Regions from separate parts of the Homo sapiens genome. Here all the other regions are linked to region 1. The links are contacts of gene promoters, found by promoter capture Hi-C in blood cells and fetal thymus (Javierre and others, 2016). All regions are on one chromosome and are shown on one strand. Each heading gives the region's core, a stretch centred on a gene start or on the middle of the fragment in contact. The rest is flanking DNA. Distances are from core to core; before and after follow the strand shown.

The links. The method cuts DNA at HindIII sites, captures the fragments that hold promoters and counts their contacts. A CHiCAGO score of 5 or more calls a contact.
Region 2: a contact is called between the fragment with the promoter of TFB2M here and the fragment with the promoter of DESI2 in region 1, in 3 of 17 cell types (total CD8 T cells, non-activated CD4 T cells and fetal thymus). The highest score is 7.5, in total CD8 T cells.
Region 3: a fragment that was not itself captured here is called in contact with the fragment with the promoter of DESI2 in region 1 in 1 of 17 cell types (neutrophils); the score reaches 6.9 in neutrophils.
Region 4: a fragment that was not itself captured here is called in contact with the fragment with the promoter of DESI2 in region 1 in 1 of 17 cell types (non-activated CD4 T cells); the score reaches 5.0 in non-activated CD4 T cells.
Region 5: a contact is called between a fragment that was not itself captured here and the fragment with the promoter of DESI2 in region 1, in 1 of 17 cell types (neutrophils). The highest score is 5.2, in neutrophils.

The regions. Positions count from the first base shown.
Region 1 is chr1:244,649,868-244,654,970 of GRCh38, forward strand. DESI2 (desumoylating isopeptidase 2) reads left to right here and starts at 3,259. Exons shown (of 5, transcript NM_016076.5): 1 at 3,259-3,488. The coding sequence starts at 3,447. RefSeq lists enhancers at 1,930-2,503, 2,763-2,922 and a silencer at 3,003-3,772. The HindIII fragment of the contact is 4,542 bases long and covers 1-3,804 here.
Region 2 is chr1:246,564,665-246,569,386 of GRCh38, forward strand. It overlaps TFB2M (transcription factor B2, mitochondrial), which reads right to left and starts at 1,597. Exons shown (of 8, transcript NM_022366.3): 1 at 1,162-1,597. The coding sequence starts at 1,474. It overlaps CNST (consortin, connexin sorting protein), which reads left to right and starts at 1,792. Exons shown (of 11, transcript NM_152609.3): 1 at 1,792-1,999. RefSeq lists enhancers at 1,287-1,566, 1,797-1,856, 1,897-2,396. The HindIII fragment of the contact is 6,532 bases long and covers 1-2,528 here.
Region 3 is chr1:243,235,406-243,240,651 of GRCh38, forward strand. The region is part of intron 1 of CEP170 (centrosomal protein 170); the gene reads right to left. Among named protein-coding and RNA genes, the nearest start is that of CEP170, 17 kb to the right of the region's middle. The HindIII fragment of the contact is 8,921 bases long and covers 1-5,246 here.
Region 4 is chr1:245,958,534-245,963,747 of GRCh38, forward strand. All of the region lies in intron 5 of SMYD3 (SET and MYND domain containing 3), which reads right to left. Among named protein-coding and RNA genes, the nearest start is that of SMYD3-AS1, 150 kb to the right of the region's middle. The HindIII fragment of the contact is 4,538 bases long and covers 17-4,554 here.
Region 5 is chr1:243,271,256-243,276,237 of GRCh38, forward strand. SDCCAG8 (SHH signaling and ciliogenesis regulator SDCCAG8) reads left to right here. Exons shown (of 18, transcript NM_006642.5): 4 at 3,288-3,401. Among named protein-coding and RNA genes, the nearest start is that of SDCCAG8, 18 kb to the left of the region's middle. The HindIII fragment of the contact is 931 bases long and covers 1,114-2,044 here.

The DNA of each region.
Region 1 (5,103 bases), core at 2,009-4,508:
ATACTGGCCTAGCACTCTGGAGAGAGAAGAGCACCGAAGATGGAGACATGCGGCTCTTCAGTATACATGCAACAGTTACAGCTGAGAGTGGATGAGATCACAAAGGGCAAAGGGAGTGTGTACAGTAAGAGTTAAAGTGAATCTATGGGGACTGCAGCCAGGACTAAATAAGGTGCAAATGCACAGTGCCTTTTCCCCACCTTTCACAGGAAAAAGGGCTTAGCAGATGTGATTACGTAGTTTGTAATTGCTTAAGGTGGGGAGGAACACCATGGGAGGAAAGAGAAGCAAGGCAGCTGATGCACCAAAAACAGGTTTTAGAACTTTGTCAACAACCTTCCAGAGGACAGTCAAGTAATGATGTGCACAGCATTTACTGTCCCCCAACACTACCTGACAAACCATATTTTCCAAGTTTACTTATTTCCTCTATTTTACATCACCTTCTGTCTCTCCAAACTCCCTATGCCCCTCTCCTCACGTCTTACTCTTTGAAGACATTCTTGCCTCATAATTCACTGAGAAAGTAAAAGTAAATCAGGAATAAACACCCTCATTTCCTACACTCCCGTATTTCTAACCTGCCTACCCGTCTCCGTGCCTTCTATGCCGTAACTGTGCACCTGCATCTGCCTTCTATGCCATCACTACAGATGAAGCATCCCCCCTACTAAACAGCAACCATTAACTTGTGTCCTGGATCCCTCTCCCTTCTTTGCCCTTGCAAATCTTTCCCTCTCCTATATCAATTTTTCTCCCTTTACATGCAAGTATGCCTCAGCATCTCCCATCTTCAAAATGCCCTCCATTGACCACACCGCCTTATCCAGCTGTTGCCCCCAAGTTAAGTTGTCTCCCTTTTGTCACCTTACATTTGCTTCTCAAACTGTTAAAGCAGTTATTTAAATCTCACTCCTCCCAGAGACCGCTCACATCAAAGCTACCAGTGATTTCTATATTGCTGAATCCAATAGTCTTGACATCAATGTTATCATGTTCTTTCTGATTTTCCTCCTGCCTCCGTGCTTCCTCTTCATACTTTACTTGACCTCTACATGGTGAAGGGTCCTAGAGCTTTGTTCTTGGCCCACTTCTTTTTAGCTACACATATTCCTAGGTCATCCAACCAAGCCCCAAGTCTATAAATGGCCATGACTCCAGTTTATTCAAATGTCTACTACTTGGCAGTCATGGATGTCTAAAAGGCATCTCAAACTTAGCATGACCAAACCATAGCTCTTGATTTCCCTACCCCCAGCCTGCTCCTCCCCAAAATGTTTCACATCTTAGAAGTGCCAGGACTATCCACTCAGTTCCCCAAGTCAAAAATCTAGAAGTTATTCTCGAATCCTCTCTCCCTAACCAACTCAACATCTAACCCATTAGCAAGTTCCACAGACTTTACTCCAAAATATTTAAACTCTAATTATTTCGGTCTCCACCACTATCAGCCACAACGAAGCCACTTGCTGGCATGCACTTCTGGAACAGCATCCAATTGGTGGACTTGATTAACTTTTGCCACATAACCACCCCCAAAACTTTGTGACTTAAAACATTATTTCTCACATTCTGTGGGTTGGCTGGTCAGTTCGTCCGATCCATGTGGTTGTGGCCAGGGAAGGATAGTCCGGGAGAGCTTCACATGTTCGCAGTTGGTTGGTTGTCAGCTGGATGTGGGCCGTGACTTGACCACGTGTCCCTCATCATCCATCAGGCTAGCCCACACTCATTCCTAAAATGGTGGTCACAGGACTCCCAAGTTCAGCAAGAGGGCAAGCCCCAACTCACAAGTGTTTTTTAAGCCTCTGCTTGCACGATGTTAATGTCCCACGTCCACAGCAAGTCACAGTCCAGTGCAGTCAGTGGGGGTAGACACCACCAAAGAGTATAATTTGGGAGACTGGAAATAATTTGTGGCTATTTTCACAATCTGCCACACTCATCTCCCTATTTCCACCTCCTTTGCCTCTCTGAAATCCATTTTCCACACAGCAACCCAAGTAATCATTTTTAAACACACGCACACTCATTTCACTCCCTGGTCCAAACTTATGGCTTCGTTTAAAATACAACCCCTGTTATGAATTTTAAAATCCTTCCGGGATCTGGCCTCTGCCTACCTGCCCAGCTCATCTAGTACCGTCGACTCCTTGCCTACTGTGTCCCAGCAAGAGTGATCTTTTGTTTCCTTGAATACAGAAAACTCCTTCATGCTTCAGATCTTTGCATTTGTTCCCTTTGACTGAAATACTCCTCCCCCTCATATCTGCGGGGCTGGCTTTGTCATTCACATTTCAGCTTAAAACTCATTACAGCGATCTTCCCCGTGCAGCCAATTTAAGAATGACTTCACCTTACTTAAATTTTCTGCAAAGCACATACCAGTGATATTTTGTATGTCCCTGTTCCTGTTTATCACGGCATTCCCGAGGGCCTACAACACTGCCTGGCACATAGGAAGCACATAACAAACATTTGTTGAATTAATGCAGAGCTGCATACTACGTCCCAGGATTGTGCTAAGCTACGGTTACTGTACCCTTCCCATCTCAGCAGGATAGTTTCACAAAATGTAAATTCCACATTGAGGATTAATTGGATGCACGTTACACCTCATCCCACACCAGTAACTCGTCTTCCTCTATTTCCCCACCACTCCCCTTGCCAAATAAAAGGTGAGGAAGCATTTGGAAAACTTAGGGTCATCACTCTGGTCTTTTGCCACATTTCGCTGGCTTCATCGAGCTCAACGCAACATGAACTACTAACAGCAGCAGCACCTGAGATGAGAGGGTGAATGAAGGTAGGAGATTTCACCGCCCGCGGGCGGCAAGGGATCTGCCGCAGCTCTAAAGCACTGCATGCTGGGAGTTGTAGTCTCCCGGGGAGGCCTGGTCTGGTAGGACCGGGGCCCCCGCGGCATGCAGGGAGTTGTAGTCGAAGGGCTGTTGAGACTCCGCCTCTGCACTTATAGTAGCAAGGGGGAATCCTCACTGCATGCTGGGAACTGTAGTCTTCCTGGGTCCCCGTTCCTCCAGGACGCGGAGGCGCCGGAGTTGCCGCCATTTTAGGTCCCGAGGTGCGCCGGCCGAGAACCAGAGCGCAGGCGGGCTCAGTCCTGGCGCCGGGCCGGCCCCGCCCCCGGGGCGCCTGGCGCCCGCCCCTTGCTCAAGCCCCGCCTTTCCCCACGTGTCTGCCGCCTAGGGGAGGTGCCTCATCCGGAGCGGGCCGCCAACGGTCCGGCCCCGTCCGCACAGACGCTCCTGTCGGCGGCGCCCGGGAGCGGCTCGGCTGCCCGATGCTTCCGCCCCGGCTGCCGCGGGCCGGGCTGTACGCTTAGTGCCCGGCTCAGGCCCCCTGAAGCGCCCGCGGGGGTGAGAGCGGCCTCCGGCCCCGCGGAGACGGAGCGGCTTGAGGACGAGGCGGCGGCCGCGGGGAGGAGGATGGGGGCTAACCAGTTAGTGGTGCTCAACGTGTACGACATGGTGAGTGCGGCCCCTGGCGGCCCCGAGCCCTGGCCCAGGCCGGCTTCCTCTCGCCCGTGGGGCTCGGACCCCGGCCCCAGGCGCTTCCTGCCTGGCGTCTCCGCCTCCAGCCTAGTTCTCGGGGGAAGCCGGGGGTGAAGGAGGGAGTATTGTTATTTTTTAATCCTCGCACTCGTCGACGCTCCGGTGAACCCAGTCAGCCCGAGGGTTTTGGCCAAAGCTCGGGTGGGCTTGAACCTCTCCCATCCGCTCAGCTTGGACCCGACCCCGGCTCTGGGCCCGACCCCTTGGCCGACGTGCAGTGTCCTTTCGGCAAAGCTTCCGTTGCGTTTCCAACCCCACTTGCCGGCCCCCGGGGCTGCCCCGGGACCCCCGTCCCGACCGCCTGCGCTCCCAGCTCCTCTGCTTCTGCCGAACTGTCCGTCTCTCTCCATGGCTACGTCTTCAGAAACTCCCAAGCCCCTCTAAGTCCAGAAGGTCACAGCTTTCGGGTGCCTGTGCTAGAATCTCTTCAAAGGTGAACAGGAGCCAACACACCCTTTCCTTGTGTGTTAAAGGCAACCTCGTTAAAATATGAATGAGGCTAACATTTCTCAAGAAAATAGCCCAGCTGAATTATTTAGAGATCCTGGTGGTGCTCCTTTCCTACACTCTGAAGACCACTTTCCAGGTGATGCAACAGGTGACGTGACCACGGGAGAGGGAAGGGAAGAAGTTGTTTATTGTATCATCTAACTTTGGAGTATGGCAAGCACGCAGAATCGAGTCCAAGAACTGGTTTGCCTGATTTTTGCAGTGAAATGCCCCCAGAAAAAAGCACCCGGTAGAGAATTGTCGTTGCAGTTAGATGCATGTTTGGGTGTGTTTGCTTGCTTTGTTCTGTAGAATGGGTTTTTGTTCTGTAGACTGGATTAGTACCTCTGACTGCAGTGCTTAAAATTCCTTGTAAGTTGACTGACAAATGAAAAATTGCCCGTCGTTATTTTTGTTGGCTTAAAGATGCAGGAGAGCAGAAATACTACAGGCCAAGAGTCTTATACAGTTCTAAACTTTGTATTCCCTTGTATTATTTATAAGTTTCTAAATTTACAGTGTTATTATATCTTGGGTAGAGTGGGATTTCTCATGCCATATCTGGGAATTGTGTCAGAAGGGTGTAGGAACTGCCTGCCACTTGAGATGAGTCCTCTGTTGAATTCTGATGTGAGCCTGGAGATGAAAGGAGATGAGTTAACATGCTGAGAAAAGTGGAACAGGACAGAAAAAGTTGAAGAGGAGAATAAGCCAAACAAAAGATCCTAGAAAACCATGGCACTTTGTAAGTTCTGTGGCCTGTGTCACTGGTTGAGAAATAATTCTCTGGATTTAAACTTTTTGTGTTCAGCTGAACACCTTTATCTTTCAAGACTCTTAACTGCCCTTTTACTTTCTCTGTGCACATCCCCCTAATCTGAATTTGGTTTGTTTTTTATTCATGAGGGCTATTACTGTCTTTCAGAATATATTCTGCTCTTGAGATCACAGTGTGCCTTTTCTCCTAGATTATTAAACAAACCCGTATTTAAATTAGGAGTATACAGTGGCCAGAAGCCATGGTTTCAGAGCCTAAAAGAAT
Region 2 (4,722 bases), core at 347-2,846, 1.9 Mb after region 1:
CTGCAAAACCTGCACTCTTTTTTTTTTTTTTTTGAGACGAAGTCTCACTCTGTCACCCAGGCTGGAGTGCAGTGGGGCAATCTCGGCTCACTGCAACCTCTGCCTCTTGGGTTCAAGCGATTCTCCTGCCTCAGCCTCCCGAGTAGCTGGGATTACAGGCGCCCGCCACCACGCCCGGCTAATTTTTGTATTTTAAGCAGAGACGGAGTTTCACCATGTTGGCCAGGCTGGTCTGGAACTCCTGACCTCAAGGGAACCACTCGCCTCGGCCTCTGAAAGTGCTGGATTACAGGCGTGAGCCACCGCACCAGGTCAAAACTTGCACTCTTCATCACCATGATTCACTACCTCTTAGAAGAAAAAAGTCACAGCAAAATAGATTGCCTCTAGCCTATCACTTCCTCACGGACTACACGGATGCTTTAACCATCAAAGAGATTGTCAAGCCTAAACAGAACTGACTCCCTGTGATATGAAATGGTGCTTTAAAAAACTATCATTCAAAAAGCCTATAAATCTTGTGTTCTTAGCATCCTGCTATGGTCTATAGGGAATGCACGGAAGAATAAGATAACATCATTTTTTCAGCTGGCAGAGGCTTGCAACTCTTTTGGGGAGATAAGATCTAAGAGCATGTTTTATCAAAATATTGTGTAAAGTGCAAGCTGCTACAGAAATACTTTGTGGTGTCATTAACGATACAGACTCTACGCTTATGTAGTGGGCAATCTCTCCAACTAAGGAGCTTCAAACAAAGACCCGTATCTGGACGGGCGCAGTGGCTCACGCCTCTAATCCCAGCATTTTGGGAGACCTAGGGGGGAGGATCACGAGGTCAAGAGATCGAGACCATCCTGGCCAACACGGCGAAATCCCGTCTCTAGTAAAAATAAGAAAATTAGCTGGGCGTGGTGGCGCGCGCCTGTAGTTCTTGCTACTCGGGAGGCTGAGGCAGGAGAATCGCCTGAACCCGGTACGCGGAGGTTGCAGGGAGCCGAGATCGCCCCACTGCACTCCAGCCTGGCAACACAGCGAGACTCCGTCTCAAAGCAAAAGAACAACAAAAAAGACCCCCCAGTATCTAAAATAGCACCCCGAGGAGGGTCAATACGTTTGAATAAATGATGAACATCCAAGAAAATGCAATTCAGCTGGACTCACCTGGATTGCACTCCAGCAGTAGGTGTGGAGGTCTACTTGGTTTTCCCAAATAGATTTGCGCCAGGGTCTCAGCCAATCTCCGATCGGTTACGTAACGCTTAAAGTCTAAGCTGGCCTTAGACGCCTTCCTTGGCGGATTCCTGAAATCCGGTTCGGGCCACAGCTGCGGAGAGGAGTCAGAGAGCCCACAGTGGTTCCTCGCCGGCAAATGCTTTCGCGTCGCCGCTTCAGACCCTAAAATGCAAAAGCGACCAGCGCCCGCCAAGGCGGAGAGCCTCAGCCGCCGAGGAAGCCCGACCACTGGGATCCACATGTCCTTGTCTCTCAGGCCCGCTCCAAGAATCACCTAGTGCAGCTACTACAGTGAACCCCACGCAGGGTATCCCACGTGGAACATTTTCTGGCGTCCGGGCCAGGTCAAGCGGAAGTAAACACTAGAGCCTGCGCATGCGAACAGCGGAGCCTTCCTGCTTTTCTCCCTCACTTCCGCTTCCGCCTCGGCTCAGCCGCCCGAGGATTGTGAGTGGACCGTTGAGGAGAGCGACCGACCATCCGGCTGGTGTCCGGACTCGTACTCTATGGTTGTCCGCGCTCTGCGCTTCCTCTCTAGCCGCCAGTGCTCTATGCTCCGCGGTCGCGGGCCGCCAGCCTCCAGCCGGCCAGCCGCGAGGGGTGCGCAGAGGGAGGCGGGGCGGAAAGGCGAGAGGTGTCTCCTCCACCGGAGCCAGGGGAGACCCGAGCAAGCTCCGTGACAGCACGTCGGCCGCCATGTCGCCGAGTGGGGCTGGAAACAGACCCGGCGCCCAGCGGTAGCCCTCCTTGCGCCTCCGATTCCCAGGTGAGGAGAGGAGGAGCGGGATGCAGGGGACCCGCCGGCTCGCGGCCGGGATGGAAAGCCTTTCGGAAGCCTCTCGCTCCTCCCCCTGCGCTGTCCTCCTCCAGCCGCGCAGCCTCTGCCCTCCGGGTGAGGTGTAGCCCGGTCCCCTTACCTCCTCCGCCTCTCAGGTCGCCTGTTTTCCTCTCCTTTCTCAGCTACTGTGGGTCTCCTATTGCTGCGCGTCGCGCCAATTTCTCCCTCCCTAGGGGACTAGCGCCAGAAGTCGTTCCTCACCCGGCTCCTGGAGGAGCCTGCGGCTTCCACGGTCTCCGTTCCTTTCTGTTGTGTGGCCCACAGCCCGCTCTCCCCACCCTCGTGGATGGTTTTCATTTCCCCCCCACACCTGGTCCCCCCCATCACTACCACTTTGGTTGTCAAGAACCGCGTGGTGTCTCCCTTCCATTCCTCTCTCTGGGCCAATATTTTCCTTAATTTTTTCAGTTTGTGTGTTTAAAAGACTTAAAGTTAAGATTAAAAATGAAGATGTAAAAGCTTACAATTCCTTTCTAAGCTTAAAAAGATTAAGACTTTAGGATGCTTACTGTATTCCTTATGTAAACTTAGTCAAACACATCGTACTGTGGAATGCGATTTAAAAGACCCAATTTTGAAGACTAAAAATAGGATGCTGTAATGGAAATTTTGGCAGTCTTTTTTTTTTTACCTATTGGGCAATGTTAGAAGACACGGTTCTTTGAGAGTGTTTTCCGTGTTTCAGGATCAAACTTAGAGCTTTTACCCATTATCCTTACCACCAAGGCAAGAAACGGCAGCCAATCAACTCCGTGTCTTAGAATACGTACAATCCTTTCTGCTTACTCTACTGAGAGTGTAATTGAGTTTGGCATTTAAATGCACGAGGAAAAGGTTCCTAAGGAATGTATCACCCAGCAAATAGTCTGAAGATTATACTCATCTGATGAAGCTCAAGCGGATAAAGAATTGACAACTAAATATGACCTTTTGTGTATTATAAATTTGTTAGGACATCATAGAAAATATCTCATCAACTGTTGTGCAAACTGTGGGGACTCACTCATTGGTCTTAATTTGCTTAAATTCTTTTTTCGTACAGTTTTCTCACTGACAATTTTCTAGAGGTGACTTTGCATCCTCTGAACCTCTCTCCATTACTGAGCTGCCTCCCCCTCTCCCCTTAAAAAACATTTTCATAGATTCAGAAATACACTTTTTTCCCCCTCCAGGACCTGGAGTCCTAAATATTTTTAAATCAGATAAAATAGAATTATGTCTTCATGGTTCACTCATAGAAATGTGTCGTTGAATTTCTGACTTTTTAAAAAAAACACTGTGGTGGCTGGGTATGGTAGTTCATGCCTGTAATCCCAGCACTTTGGGAGGCCAAGGTGGGAGGATCACTTGCTGCCGGGAGTTCGAAGCCAGACTGGGCAACATAGACTCTGTCTCCTTAAAAAAAAAGAAAGAAAGAAAAAGAGAAAAAGAAAAATAAACACATTGTGGTTAAAAACAAAACAGTTATTTTAAAATGCACTGTCTTATTTCATAATGTTTGTGGACCAAAGTTAGCCTACTGAGTCCTAGAAAAACTGATGTCATTTTTTATTTTGCTTTTGAGTGTTATTATTTTCTCTTGGTTTTGGGAAAGAGAATTACATTATAATATTCCCTTTTTACAGTGTTGATGGTTCACTTGTTTGTAATTGAAGGTACTTGAATAATAAGAGATTTTTGTACATCTTATTTTTTTTCTGAGGTCCCAGGTGCTGAGAATGTTGATTTCACCTTAAAGATGAACTTTATGATCAGGATTTAGACATACTTTATTAGAAAAACTTGATTAGTGTGCAGTATTTCCCATCTTTTTTCTTAAGAAGTGTGGTTTTCTATCCTATGCTGTTTTTGCCTTTTTGAAGTAATTTTGAGATGGAGTCTACTCTGTCGCCTAGGCTGGTGCCATCTCGGTTCACTGCAACCTCCGCTTTTCGGGTTCAAGCAGTTTCTCCTGCTTCAGCCTCCCGAGTAGCTGGGATTACAGGCTCCTGCTACTATGTCCAGCTAATTTTTGTATTTTTAGTAGAGACGGAGTTTCGCCATGTTGGCCAGGGTGGTCTTGACCTCAGGTGATCCTCCGACCTCCACCTCTCAAAGTGCTGGGATTACAGGCGTGAGCCACCACGCCTTTAAAATACTTTTTTTCTTGCTTTTTACATTTAAATATATTTATTTATTTGTGAAGGCGGAGTTTTGCTATGTTGCCCAGGCTGGTCTCAAATTCCTGGCCTCATGCAATCCTCCCACCTCAGCCTCCCAAAACACTGGTATTACAGGCATGAGCCACCACACCCAGCCTCTTTTGGCTTTTAAATGACAACTGTAATTGGGAAATGCCAAGTGATAGTCCTTGCTTGCTGTTAGAATTAAGGCTGTAGGTCTGTAGCAGCAGTCTTCAATAGAAATACAATGCAAGCCATATAAGTAATTTAAAATTTTCTAGTAGTGGTATTAAGAAAGTAAAAAGAAACAGGTAAAATTTTAGTAGTATATTTTATTTAATCTTATATATGTTATTTTAACATGAAATCAATTTTTAAAATGAGATATTTTACATTATTTGATACTAAATCTATAAAATCTGGTATTTTATACTTACAGCACATCTCAGTTTGGAGAAGCCACATTTCAAGTGCTCAACAGTCACATGT
Region 3 (5,246 bases), core at 2,322-4,821, 1.4 Mb before region 1:
ACCCTTGTTTTATAGTTACTCCAAAAGGATAAATCCACAGCTGTGCTTTTTTTGGATACTTACCAAGATACTTGTTTCATGCTCATGTGAACAAACTCATTACTGGGAAAATTTCTGCTTTCATACACTCATGATTATTCTGGAATGACTACTCTAAATTTTACCTTTATCATCTGCCATATACATTATTAATTCTTTTGTGAAAGGCAATTAAAGCAAATAGGTTTAAAGAAAAAATATAAGCTGCAACTTAAATCTGATATAGCATTAAAACTAAAAAAAAAAAAAAATTCTCATAAAAATAAGTGAAGATGACATTCCAAATACCACACCACATATTCTATGTCTGAGTTTATTATATATTTTTAACAGAAGATTTAGATTTGATGGGAAAAGCTAGCAAGCCAGTGATTTAATTAAAGATTTCTTCATAAAAAACATTCAATAAAGTGCTTAAAGAAAATACCTAAGAAAAAACAAGTTATACTTTTCCATAAATTATCTAGGCATTAAAAATTCTTGCTAGGTTTTCCCTGTCAGTTTATGAAACACGTAAAGTCTGACTTGTTTGCTTTTGTAGAACTGTACTACCCTCATTAAAGCATAATTTTGTTGCTTTACACCAAAAAATCAATTGACTTAGATTCAGACATTTATCAAGTACCTCCTTTGTGCCAGTAACTGTGCTAATTGCTTCTATTAATACTTGCATTCTTTCATTTAACTCCCAAAACAAGCATTCAAGAAACATTTTTCCCTTAAGAAAACTAAAGTTAAAGCCTTATTCAAGGTTACAAATGCAGTATAAACAGGAACCACCTAGATTCAAATCTGGGCCTTCAGCTACCAAATATGGGGCTTTTCCCACAAATCACTATCTCCTTTGTATTTTTCTTAAATATACCTCGAAATGATGCAGGTGATTCTGCCAGTCTCGGATTTGGCTACAGTTGGAGTATGATGATATGCAATATATTTTAACTTAACAACGAGTTCTCTAACACTCTGTTTGGGCAATAAATGCTGACAGTTCATGTAAATTTCAGCCTATTTTCAATCTTCTCAGCCTCCTGTTTGGCCACCAGCAGGCTCCAAGATTCTCTCCTCGAGAAGTTCACAGACAAGAAAGAATCAATCAGTTATTAAAACCAAAAACCAAAAATCAGCTGGCCAAAAATCAGCGGATCAATCTAGAGAAACGAGGGAAATTTAGTAAACTGGGGTATAGCATGGATTAGAAACCTAGACTCTGAAAGAATAGTAAACTATCTCCAGGTTCACTAAATAACTATAAATCTAAAAAACTGTCAGATCATAGAGCACTAGGAGCAGGAAAAGCCACACAAAGCTGTCTGGAAGACCTGAAACTGTCTACAGGAGGGAGTGACAATGGGAGGAAAGCAGTCTGGGTTAAGGGTCTGTTACGATCCTGAAAGTCAAATGCTTTGATTCACTGTTCTTAGCTCACGCAGGACAACAATTTCTCTGCCATGTGTCTGCAATTAATTTTAGCATATCACTAATTCTTGTGCCCTTTAAAAATGGTTTCTGTTCATCTTCAATACCTTTTCTGATTCACTATACATTAACTATTTGGGAGGTGGGTACAAATCATTTCCATTGCATTATCAGTATAACATATGAAAAGTGAATTGAAACTTCAAAGTGTAGAAAACTGAAACGTCTCAGAGTCTATTTTAAGCAAGAATGTATTTAGTGAATATATCACTAACACACTTTACTGTATAACAGTAAGTTGCTAATTACTAGCCTAAATTATGCAGTTTTTCTTTTTATCTTCATGTTAAATTATAATTTTTATAAATATCTCTATACCAGCACTGTGCAACAGACTGTGATGATGGAAATATTCCTGTCCAATACATTAGCCACAAGCCATGTGTTAACTATTGAGCACTTGAAATACAGCTAATACAACTAAAAAGATGAATTTTAAATTTCATTTAATTTTAATTCATTTAAATTTACATATTCATATATGGCTAGTGGCACTCTAGCTAGTTCAGCTCTCAAACTAACAAATGACACTATTATTTACCTTAAGGATCGCTTTCGTTAAATACCTCATACTTATAGTATATAAACATGCAGAATAGCTGATAAAATAATGCATGCTGGAAAAGAAAATTTTAATCTAATCAAAAGAAAATAAAGTGCTTTGTATTTTAATTTAATTGAGATAGTATCACTATAGGCCAGGCATGGTGGCTCACGCCTGTAATCCCAGCACTTTGGGAGGCCGAGGAGGGTGGATCACCCTGAGGTCAGGAGTTCGAGACCAACCTGGCCAATATGGTGAAACCCCCGTCTCTACTAAAAATATAAAAAATTAGCTGGGCCTTGTGGCGGGTGCCTGTAATCCTAGCTACTGGGGGTGGTGAGGCAGGAGAATTGCTTGAGCCTGGCAGGTGGAGGTCGCAGTGGGCCAAGATCACACCACTGCACTCCAGCCTGGGCAACAGAACGAGACTCCATCTTAAAAAAGACAGCATCATTATGACTTTCATACAAAGTAGTAAATTATATAAACAATCGGGTCTATCTTTTGTCTAAAATTTTTAAATATTCATTGTATTGGCAAGACTGTTCTTTCATATACTGTAATTCTTAGGCTATGGATGTTTAAAGTGATTAGGTTTATCTTTACCAGAATGCCATGAGGTATGTAACAGTTCAATGGAATTGTTCTGTAGTTTGATTATTTCTGAGAAGGTGAAATACAAGAATTCTCTTAAGGGAGGGAATCGCTAGGCACAGCCAGCCTAAAGAACACTGAACACTGGGAGGCCGAGGTGGGACGATCACTTGAGCCGAGGAATTCAGGACCAACCTAGGCAACAAAGTGACACCCTGTCTCTACAAAAAAATAAAAAAAATAAATAAATTGCCAGGTGTGGTGACGTGCACCTGTGGTCCCAGCTACAAGGGAGGCTGAGATAGGAAGATCGCTTGGGCCCAGGAGGTCAAGGATGCAGTGAGCCAAGACTGTGCCATTGCACTCTAGCTGGGGCAACACAGTGAACTGCCCTGGAAAAAAAAAAAAGAATAGTGATATATTTCATTTAGAGAAGAGCTTCTGCAATTTTGAGGGTAAACAGAAGCTAACACAGATAAAAGATTATTGGTATTAATAGCCAACAAGTGGAAGTAACCCAAAACCTAATGGTAGATCATTTTTTAAAAGTATAATTTTCCTCATTATATTTGAATTTTCTTTTAGCAAATGTACTAGAGTGTATGGTATATATACATGTATTAAAGAAAAAATCAAATCATCTAATCAGAAAGTAATTTTATAACAGAACTCAGTCCACATATTAGTAGTAAATTTGAATTTCCAAAGTCAAAGTAATTTTTGGAATTTGAACTATGGTGCTAACGGTTCATGGTTGAAAATGTCCTCCTGTTAAATCTAATGATCTCTAGTATTGCTATCTTAAATTACCTCTCAATATCTTTGACCATTCTTGCCTTCTACAAGTATCAGTCTGCTTTCCTCTCACTTCTGTGGGCACGCCTCAATCTCTTTGAAAGTGTCTACTTTTTCTTTAAATTCTGTTTTTACGGGGTTACTTCCCTATACATAATCTCTTTGGGACTTCTTTGAAAACCCTGGGCTTCCAATATTGCTTATTATAATGTTACACATATAATTTCAAGTCAAAACCTTTTTTACAAGATCAGACCTTCCCTCTGCTTACGAGTCATTTCCAGTTCAAGGTCCTCCTGGACTCCTCAGATTTAATTTTTAAAAAACAGAAAGAACCCTTTCATCTAACGAAATGTGCCTTTTTTCCTGTTCTCCCCGTCTTAGCGAATGGCATCACCAACTGACCAGATATTTTCTCTCCCACTCCCGCTTTAGTTAGGTAAGTCATTATGTCCCTTTGATTCCACATCCTAAATATCTTTCTTTGTGCCTTTCCTCTTATCCCACTGGTTCTTACCAATAAATTACTGCAGAACTCTTTTACCTGAATCCCTTGTCTCTAGCCTCCCACTCTCCAAATCCTTCCTCTATCCAGCTATCAAAATTACATTTATAAAAGTAAATGTAATAATTTCACTCCCTAATTTTCAATAGCTCCCTATAGAGTTCAAGATAGAATTCAAACTCTTCAGTTTTGAGTAAAAAGCCCTGTTATCTCCCCATGTTACTCTGCTCCTCCCTTGTATTCCATGTCCAACTGAATTTGAAAATGAAAGCTCTATGCTGTCCCAAGACCTTTCATAGTGAGCTTTCTCCAGCAATCACTTCCCCCAGAAAAACACCCATAGAATTCCCAGCCTCTCAATTCTGACCACCTATCTTGCCCTTCACATATACCTACAGCAACTCCTAAACTTCTTTGTACAAAATATATTCATTTTTGTCTATTTTCCCTTATAAACTGAGTTGCTTGAGTAAAGTGGCTATTACTTAGTAATCCTGGTATCTCTTGTACCTTGTATGGATGCCTGAAACTTTAGTAAATGTTCAGCAAATATTAATAGGTAATAGTGGCACAATATAAACTTTTCTGGTGAAGTTTTATCAATAGGCCAATAGCCATACTAGAAATCTGACATAAAATTCACTGGGAATTTTCTGATTACTTGGTAATATGAATACAATCTGGCCGGGCTGTAATCCCAGCACTTCGGGAGGCTGAGGAGGGTGGATCACCTGAAGTCAGAAGTTTGAGACCAGTCTGGCCAACATGGTGAAACCCTGTTTCTACTACAAATACGAAATTAACTGGGCATGGTGGCACATGCCTGTAATCCCAGCTACTCAGGAGGCTGAGGTAGGAGAATTGCTTGAACCTGGGAGGTGGAGGTTGCAGTGAGCTGAGATCACGCCATTGCACTCCAGCCTGGGCAACAAGAAACTCTGTCTCAAAAAAAAGAATACAATCCATTTAATACAAAATAAATCAGACTAGAATTGCAATAAGCAATCCATATGATCCGTTCCAAGATTCATCTCCTCACTTTGAAAGTGAAGCCGTTCACCATCACGGTTAGACGTTCCACCTTATTTCCCTAGAAGACAACCCTTAGTTAAGGAGATCACCTTAAGCTAATGGCTCTTAGACCTGGAATCACTTGCGGAGATTTTTACACACAGGAACACTTCTATGTGTGTATGTATTTATCAATATGTCTAGGCTTCATACCTGAAGACTTGAACTTATAATGTAACTGGTAAGGTATGGGTATCTGTATTTTTTTTTTTTTTTTGA
Region 4 (5,214 bases), core at 1,036-3,535, 1.3 Mb after region 1:
GTTGCCTCCTTCAGGAAGCTTTTCCTCATTCTCCAGTCTGATTTAGGTTCTCCTCCTCCGTAGCAAAGTACATACCCCTAACAATACCACTTACCCCACTGAACCATCATTGCTGATTTACTTGTCTGTTTCTTTTACTACTAGGGTTATTCCTAGAAAGAAGAAGCTACATTTTATCCTACTTTGTATCTCTTTCATATAGTACAGTGACTGACACATCATAGGTGCTCCAGACCCCAAATAGAAGAACTGGGACAGAAATCAAAGGGTAGTATATCTGGGATCACCACCCTGGGGGAGTGGGCTATCTCATGAACCAGTATTTAAGCAGAGGCTAGATAATAACTTTCAGGAGCATTAAGAACTCTTTTTTGTTGTTGTTTGGTTTTTTTGAAACAGAGTTTCATTCCGTCTCCCAGGCTGGAGTTTGGTGGCATGATCTCAGCTCACTTCAACCTCCGCCTCCCAGGTTCAAGCGATTTTCACGTCTCAGCCTCCCAAGTAGTTGGGATTATAGGCGTGTGCCACCATGTCCAGCTAATTTTTTGGGTTTTGTTTTTGTTTTTTTAAGGAGAGATGGAGTTTCTCAAAAAACAAACAAACAAACAAACAAAAAACAAACAAACAAACTCTGGCCAGGTTGGTCTCAAACTCCTGGCCTTAAGTGATTGACCTGCCTCAGCCTCCCAAAGGGCTGGGATTACAGGCATGAGCCACCATGCCCGGCCAAGAGCTCTTTACACTAAGTGAGGAGCAGTGTTAGGCAAGCCAAGACATCCATGCTTGCTCTGTTATTCTACGGCTCCCGACAGCTCCAGATCAAAGTTTTCTGATGAAGATGGGCCAACATCTCAGAAGACAGGATGGCACAACAGTAACACAACTATCATAGTTAGAAAACCTGGGTTCTGGCTCTGACTTGGTTGTGTGATTTTTGGTAGACAGTCCCAAAAGTCTTGGGTGATTTCATCTCAGTTTCCCTATTTATAAAACAAAGGGTGAAAGGTAAGCTAGGGGGAGCTGACCAACTAGATGGTCTGTTAAACGCCTTCCAGTGCTAAGAGAATTGCCTTATTTTCCCATTGCTCACTGTGTTCTCTTGTGACCACCTGAAGGTCTCTGCCAGCTCATCTTATACCAGTGCTGTCTTCCCTGTTTGATGGCTCATTTCTCTAAATAAAGCATAACATTCACAGAACAAAATGAGTAAAATCTCTGTTTTTTTAGTTCACTGGACAACATCACTTTTCTTTTTTCATTTTTGAGACAGGGTCTTGCTCTGTTGCCCAGGCTGTAGTATGGTAGTGCCGTCACAGCTCACTGTGGCCTGGACCTCCCAGGCTCAAGTGATTTTCCTACCTCAGCCTCCTGAGTAGCTGAGACTGCAGGTGTGTGCCACCATGCCCGGCTAACTTTTTCCATTTTCTGTAGAGACAAGGTTTCATCATGTTGCCCAAGCTGCTCTCAAACTCGTGACTCAAATGATCCACCAGCCTCAGCCTCCCAAAGTGCTGGGATTACAGGTGTGAGCCACATGTGCTCGGCCACATATCTTTTTATTTTAAAATATTAATAAAACAAAATTATGCAGGTAAACTCTGAGTCCAAAGGGAAATTGGCATTGACTTACAAAATTTAATCAGATACTTAGAATTCACTGAGTTAACACGTGCATACTTGACCTTGCTTGATGCAAAGATCTGTGATATGTAATCATTTGCTACTTCACTGAAGATGTTTGAATCCTCCTTGTTGTAAGGTTGACTCCACAGGAAAAGACTGATTCACATGGCTTTGTTATCATTGGCTTTCTGTTATGAAAGCAGACAATTTAGGTCAAGGGACAACAATCTATTTTTCTGCCTGAAAATGACCCCGACATGAAAACCAACTGATAGATTGGTTCATTTCTATTACCAGCACTAAAGAATGGGCATAGGGCTGGGCACAGTGGCTCACACCTGTAATCCCAGCACTTAGAAGGCCGAGGCCAGCCTGGGTAACATGGGAAAACCCCCATCTCTACGAAAAAAAGACACAAAAATTAGTCAGGTGTGGTAGTGTGTGCCTATAGTCCCAGCTACTGAGGAGGCTGAGGTGGGAGGATCACTTGAGCCTGGGAGGTGGAGGTTGCAGTGAGCTGAGACCATGCCACTGCACTCCAGCCTGGGTGACAGAAACCAGACTCTGTCTCTAAATAAATAAATAAATAAATAAATGGCATAAATTAGCCTTATAAATTACTTTAATCCTGAATTTATAGAATCGTTACACATCTAGAGGAATTACTTAACTTTTTCAGATATACTTTGCATTTTTCACAGAGAGAAAAATAATTACATAGGCATTTTCACATTTGGAAGTTCATAACTCCCTCGGGACCTATTCCACAGGAAGGCCGAAGGCCAAAGGTCTCTTGTATATTATCTAGCTCCTTAAAATGGCAACATTTAAAAAAAAATCTAACCTCCTTCTCCCCCAAATCAATTCAGTTTGTTGAAATTCTTCCATATGCCTTAAAACTACCAAGGGAAGGCAGAGTCAGACAAGGTTTAAATGTTTGTAGGCATCTGAGAAAGAATTGAAAACAATCAGAGTAGAGATGGTGGTCTACTCTGCATTCTCCCTTGGGCGCTACCACAAAGGCACTTCTCTGTACCCATCAGCAGAGCCGCACATGCTCTCTCTTCTCATAGAAACAGGGTCAACCCTCATTTCTAGGAACATAATTTTCAACCACAAAGTTCCCTTCCATTTTTTACTTTCCTGACATCAGTCTGCTAAGTGAAGATATCTCGGTAAGAACTCCAATTTTAAGGGGAATGAATCTTTACAGAATGTACTTTATCTTGTCAGCACTTTGAATCTAAATTTCCTTCTCACCCTTTCACCCTAAAATATCAGCTTGCATCAGGCACAAAGGAAGATGCACAGCTGCAAGTGCTCAAGATGACTAAGGAAGGAAAAGCAGACAAGTCACTAATTACTCTCCAAACTGGAGGCCTAAATCATCCTTCTCTTCTACCTGTTGTTTCTGGAATAGTTTATGTCAGTAATGGAAAATTTAAACACTGTCATATAATTCCATTTTTTTTCCCCACTCCAGCTCTTAAAAACATCCTAGATGTTAAGATGTGTAGCCTAGGACAGTGGTTTTCACACAGTGCTCTAAGGAACCTTTAGAGCCAGACACACAGAGGAGGTATCAATAGGAGGGGTCTGATGCCCCTTCGACACATGTTACTATAATTAACATGTATTTTGAGACTGAGAATGTAGGCTCCATGAAAGCCGGGATTCCTGTTTCCTCACAGCCATCACCTCGTCCTTTTAACAGGGCCCAGAATACAGTAAGCTGCCGGATAAAAGTTTTTTGACTGAATAAACTGCACGGTTATTACAGCTGGGAACTGATTTCGCTGATTTCCACGGTAACCCTGTGAGGCACGTATAGTAGTTATCCTCACTTTGCAGATGGGCAAACTGAGGCTCAGAGCAGCCTGGCTTCCAAGACCCTCCTTCTAAACATCATACCACATGACACAGCCTCCCACGTGAGCCAGCAGCTGTATTTCATCTGTTTTACATGTGAGGTTTCCCACCATTTGACTGGAGAAAGGTCGATGTTAGGGGAGAAAAAACCATTTAAAAACCACCAACTTCATGGTGAAATCCAAAGGCTGCAAGTAATCAATCTCACTCCTTGCTCTGTTTTTCCTGCCACCCTTGGGACTTGACGCAAGTGGCTTAACTGCTCATTGTTTCAGGTTCCTCATCTTATTTTACAACCTATCTTGCAAGATGAGTATACATGAAATATTAGAGGATCCTGATGTTGTCAGAAGTGTAGTTTTGCGGATGTTGATCCCAGAATTGTGAAACAAGGACACGGTTGAGATGATCGCTAAACTCTGCCTGAAGTTCAACGCCTCTGTCATTGAAGACCTTGCACAGTGCCGTCCACATGGTTATTTTATTCCTCCATGTCCTTACCAACTAAACAAGCCATATGATTTTAGGTTTCGTGGCCAGACAGCCTGGCTAAGCTCCTATCAACATGTCAGCCAGATGAGGTGAAGAGATGGAGAAACAAACCTGCATGTGGGTTGCGTCGAACAATAAAGAGAAAACAGAGACCAAAAATCTTGTGCCAAGGTTTGACCTCAACAACCGCAAAACCAATCATTGCTGTGTTGTTTCACTATGTTTCTAGAAACATCCATAGAGGAGAAACCAAAGTCGGCCTGAATACATGTTAATAGCTTTCACGGGCTTACTTCTGATATTTTAAACAGGCAACAAAAAAGAAAAACCAAGTTTCAGATCTTGCCAGAAATTGGGGTTTCACTTAACTGTAAAACAGTCAAGGGGAGTTTATCAGGTAAGACACGAAGCCTTTCTTTATAAGCTCTTATAAGACTAGAGACCACTGGATTGCCGTGCAGTTACTGCCGCTGGCATTATTTTCTTAGCACACTAAGAAAAATAAAAATGTTCAAAGTCCTGTTTTTAAAAACAGGATGAGACTTCTGGCTTCTGATCTGGTATGTAAGAAGCTTAGAAGTCACCATTCCATCCTAACAACAAGTAAAAAGCTAAACAAACTAAAAAATCAACCATTCTTCTTACACATTTGAGATGCTAGATATATTAGCTTAATTTAATTATTCCACATTGTATTAAAAACTCACAATACCACTTTGCATCTTATAAATATACACAACTATAATTTCTCAATATACAGTGTTAAAAAAAAATTCTTAGATCTGCCAAAGAAATAAGGTCACAGGGCAAGCTGCTGCCCCCAAGACTAGAGAGACAGAGGGGCGCATACAGAGCATTGCAACTTACTACAACAGAAACCTCCATGGAAATCAGTACCCGGTAGAAACCTCAATTGTACTCGACATACTGCTGGGGGTCTAGAATGAACAACTCTTCGAGTTTAAAACTCCAGAGGTGCCCATCATGGGGAGTAGGGAGGGATAAGCTTTTGTGAGTTTTTTTTTTTCCAGGAGCTCTAGCAGGGCCTCGCAGTGAGTATCAGAGAAAAATTCCCTTATGCTTCCAGTGGAAAAAGGAGGAAAAGGACCATTTTGAAAAAACACCAGAGATCAGCACCATAGGAAAAGGAAAAAAGAAAAAGAAAAAAACACCAGAGAATTATGTTCTTAACAAGGTTTTGCCCTCCAGAGAAACTAACCAGACCCTAAC
Region 5 (4,982 bases), core at 329-2,828, 1.4 Mb before region 1:
AAATTTATTATTCACTTGGAAAATGGGAGCAAGGGAATAGTTTGGAGAATTTATTTTGCAACTGTTAGCAAAATATGTAATATAAATATATAATATATAATAAATTAATATAATAAATTATATGTCAGAATATATGTAAAAGATAAAGTCATTATTTTAGTAATTTCTTTTTTAGAGGGTCATATCTATTATTGATCATTTTTAGAAGTTACTTAATTATAATTGTAGCCCTACTTTGTAATATTTTTTAAATTTTGAGTGTCAAAATAATACATTTTATTTTTAATTAATTAATTAATTTTTTTGAGACAGAGTCTCATTCTGTTGCTCAGGCTAGAGTGCAGTGGCATGATCTCGCCTCACTACAACCTCTGCCTCCCTGGTTCAAGCGATTCTCCTGCCTCAGCCTCCCTAGTATTTGGGTTTACAGATGTGCACTACCACACCAGGCTAATTTTTTGTATTTTTAGTAGAGATGGGGTTTCACCATATTGGCTAGGCTGGTCTCGAACTCTGAACCTCAGGAAATCCATCAGCCTCGGCCTCCCAAAGCACCGGGATTATAGGTGTGAGCCACCGCGCCTGGCCTCAAAATAATACGTTTTAATATGTAATGTTCTATATGTTAAAATATATGGTTATAAAATAGTATGATATATAAGAAGTGGTGCTGTATTTCTTCTGAAGTTGTTTGTTATTGCTTTGACAGAGTGTATTATTTCTGATTAAAGCATTTTATATGCTAAAGGCTGAGATAGATGTGAGTGAAAGCACTCTGGACCAGATTTAAGTGGACAAAATAATAGTCAAGGGCTTAGTTCTATCTAGGGTCTATCACATACTCTCTAAGATATTGTGCCTGTCTCACAGAGTTTTTGGAATAATGAGATAAGATTACATACTTAAAATTCTTTAGAAACCTATGAAGTGTTACATAAACATAACATGCATAGCAGCAAGTAACCACCTCACATTTTCAATGTGTTTTCTAGTTCAATACAATGCCTGTATGCTGAAAAGTGTGGAGACATGTCACTTTCTTTTCTTCACCACTGAAATATCAGAGTATCACTCCCATACGAACACTCCATTCCAGGCTGACACATACTTTTAAGCTTAATTCCTACTTTAGAGAAATGTACTTCATATGCATATTCTAAATTTATAGATACAGATTTTATAATTTTAGTAAAACATCTCATCATTTAATGAATTTATTACTATTGACATCTGGTTTCTAGCTTGCTCTTAAGCACAGACTGGTGGAATGCTTTTAAATCTACTAGATGAAGTTGCTTTATCTGTTGAATGCTCAGACATGCTTATTTGCCTTTTAAAGTCTGAGCAGTGATATTATGGAGCTTACTGAATCCAGACAGGCAGGAAGACCTTCACTAAGAGAATCAGTTTAGTACATACAGAGTGCACTTTAAAATACACAAGTCTATTTATATGGAGCTATGTAAAAGAATGGAACTTAGACTCTATATGTATACAGCCTACATGTAATAATTATAAACCATAATAGTAATAATTAGCTTTTTAAGATTATACCTTTAGAATGCACTTTCATAGCCAGTATAACATATTAGAAATACATGCATATATTGAGAGTAAAACTGAGGCACTGTTGAGATGGAAAAAAAGTTATTACTTATTGTCTTAAAATGTAGATATCTAAACTAAAGCCCTTCAAAGTAGACACAAATGATTTCATGTGAACATTTTTCATACAATATTGGCTTGAGCTTTTTATTTTTCACATTGACTTCCTCCTGTATACTCATAGTAGTAATTTATATTTGCCTATCTTCTGAACCTATTGCTATTAATGGAGGATGATTATAATTGTTTGATTTCTACTCAGGACAGATAATTCATTTAATTAGAGTTACTTTGGTTTTTAAATTTCTTAAATATACCAAAAAACCAAAGCTCTATTTTATTTTATTCTGCCATGATAGCTGGTACTTGATTATCATTTAAAATGTCTGCTGTGCTGAGAAAGAGAGTGGCTGAGAAACAGACACTGTGCCTCATTTCAAGCTTTCCTCTGGCTTTGTTTAACTGGTTGACCCTTGTTTTACCTTTTCCTGATTTCCTCATCCTTTAAAAAAAAAATTATGTGATGGGTATATGATTTTACAAACTATTTTAGGATAAGGTAAGCTATACATTAACAGTCAGTTCCAGGAATGCTACAGAGCTAAAATAGCATTAGCGTTTTTTTGAAATCTCTTCGTTGGACCCCTCAATGCAGTGTGTCTCTACTTTAGGGTTCTACTCTTGGAGGTTCTATGCTCCAGAACACCATACACTTGAATTGCCTTCAATACTAGAGCCAAAAATCAAAAACTACATTTTGCTAATGTATCTTTTTTGAGATGGAATTTCATCGCATTGACACTGGCTTGGCATCAAACGCTTCCTAAAGAATCTCTCCTTCACGGAGCTGCTGCAGTTTTAGCTAGCAAATCCTCTTCCATGGCAGTTTCTTGGAGAGAGTTGTCCCTTGTATCTCAGCATTACTGAATGGAATGTTGTTTTTCCAATTTGTTAAAATAGTTTATTCCAAGCCAGTTATACTACTGCTACCCCAGCATTTTTCCATTCACTATATGTGCTTTTTATAACCACTTTCACCATCCATCTTTAAAAAAAATGATATTCACATCCATGAATCTTGTGTATTTGTGGAATTTATAGGATAGAGAAGCAAGTATTTGTATTAGTCCATTCTCGTGTTGCTAAAAATAAATACCTGAGGCTGGGTAATTTATTTAAAAAAGAGGTTTAATCAGCTCATGGTTCTGCAGGCTGTATAGGAAGTGTGATACTGGCATCTCACTCTGGTGAGGGCCTCAGGAAACTTTCAGTCATGGTGGAAGGTGAAAGGGGAGCAGGCATTTCATGTGGTGAGAGCCAGAGCAAGAAGTGGGAGAGGTGTCACATTCTTTTAAACAACCAAATCTCACCAAAACTCAGAGCAAGAACTCATTATCATGAGGATAGCACCAAGATTCATTCATCATGACCGAAACACCTCCCACCAGGCCCCACCTCCAATGCTGGGGGCCACATTTCAACTTGAGGTTTGTGGGGGACAAGCATCCAAACTATATCAAGACTATAAGCTACATTGTGATCGATTCTATGTTTATATCACATCAGTGCAAAATTGAGTATGGAGAAGGTAACAACTGATTCTTTGCTAAATCCAAACATGCTTAATTTGGCTTTTTAAAATTTATGTATTTATGTATTTATTTATTTATTTTTTGTCATAGAGGTCATTAGAACATGAGGAAACCAATATGCCTACTATGCACGACCTTGTTCATACTATTAATGACCAGTCTCAATATATTCATCATTTAGAGGCAGAAGTTAAGTTCTGCAAGGTAAGTTTCTCATTAAGAATTTAAAACTAAATAAATGAAAGCTTATATTAACTATAGATTGTATTAAAATTTGCTGCTATAAATCTTCATGTTTGTAGCAATACATTGACAATTGCTATTCTTACGTGATTGAGAGACTGATGTGTCACAAGAGCTTGTCAGACTTGGGAATGATGCTCTTGACCATACCATTTCTGATTGCTTGATTTCCCAGTAGTTCATTACTATGTCTAATGATTTCATAATATGCTTTCATATTTCAGAAGTTTTCCTTCTCACCCCGCTTGCTGTAGCCCAGCAAATGGCAAATGCTTTGGAATACAAATACCAATCATTCTCCCATACTTGTCAACCTACTGGAGCAGTGGTACAGCAATCAGGGATTCTAAACTGGTAGACCAATTCTTCTCCGCTGTCAGTATTAAGGCTCTTACTTTGACTTTGAATGAGAATGGTTCATAGGGTACTGACAGTAATGATCAAGAAACCAAACACATCATATATAGCTTATGACACTAGAAGGTTATATGCTCAACTGCGTGCAGTTTGCTAATGTCATTAATGCTAATAGAGCCTTTTCATCTTCCCGAAGTATGTCGTGTTTTACTTTTTTTTTTCTGTTTCTTTCTCTCTTTCTTTCTTTCCCTCCCTCTTTCTTTCTTTCTAGTATCAGTGTATTCGATTGTATGATATTTTTATAGGAATCACTGATATCTCTTGTATCATGTTTTTATATATAGTATATGATATTATGTATTATATTGTTGACATTTTAAGATGCAAGGCCAGTATGTAACTTAAGGAGGCTTTAGATGTTTCACTGTCCTGATTTTACCGGGGAGTTTCTGATCTTAACATGTAATTTCCTGTTTGTTCTTGGAGGACACAGTTATTAATATACACGTGGTCCTGGATTACCAGTAAAGCTGAAATAATATCCTAGGAACTATTTCATTAACAATACTCTATTAATCCCTAAGATGTTGTGGATAAAACTTGAAAGATATAAAGCAGAATAAATTTACTATCTAGTTGAGAAGACAGAACTATTCCCTATTAACACCATAAGGAGCACATTAGAGAACATAGTATAGGCCTTTACTTTTTGGTATAAGCTATAATTATAATAAGAGAAGAAGGTTAGGAAAAGCTACTGTCTTTGGGAATGTTTCTATGGGAGAGAGAGATCTTGAACCAATGTTTTTTTTTTTTTTTTTTTTTTTTTTTTGATGGAGTCTCGCATTGTCGCCAGACTGGAGTGCGGTGTCACAGTCTCCGCTCACTGCAACCTCCGACTCCCTGGTTCAAGCTATTCTCCTGCCTCAGCCTCCCCAGTAGCTGGGATTACAGGCCTGCGCCACCACGCCCAGCTAATTTTTGTATTTTTTGTAGAGACGGGGTTTCACCATGTTGGCCAGCATGGTCTCGATCTCTTGACCTCGTGATCCGTCCGCCTTGGTCTCCCAAAGTGCTGGAATTACCGGTATGAGCCACGATGCCCGGCCTAAACCAGTCTTAAAGGAATAGGATCATTTAGATCAGCAGAAGGGAGATGAGTTTCATAAAGAGAATGGCAACAGT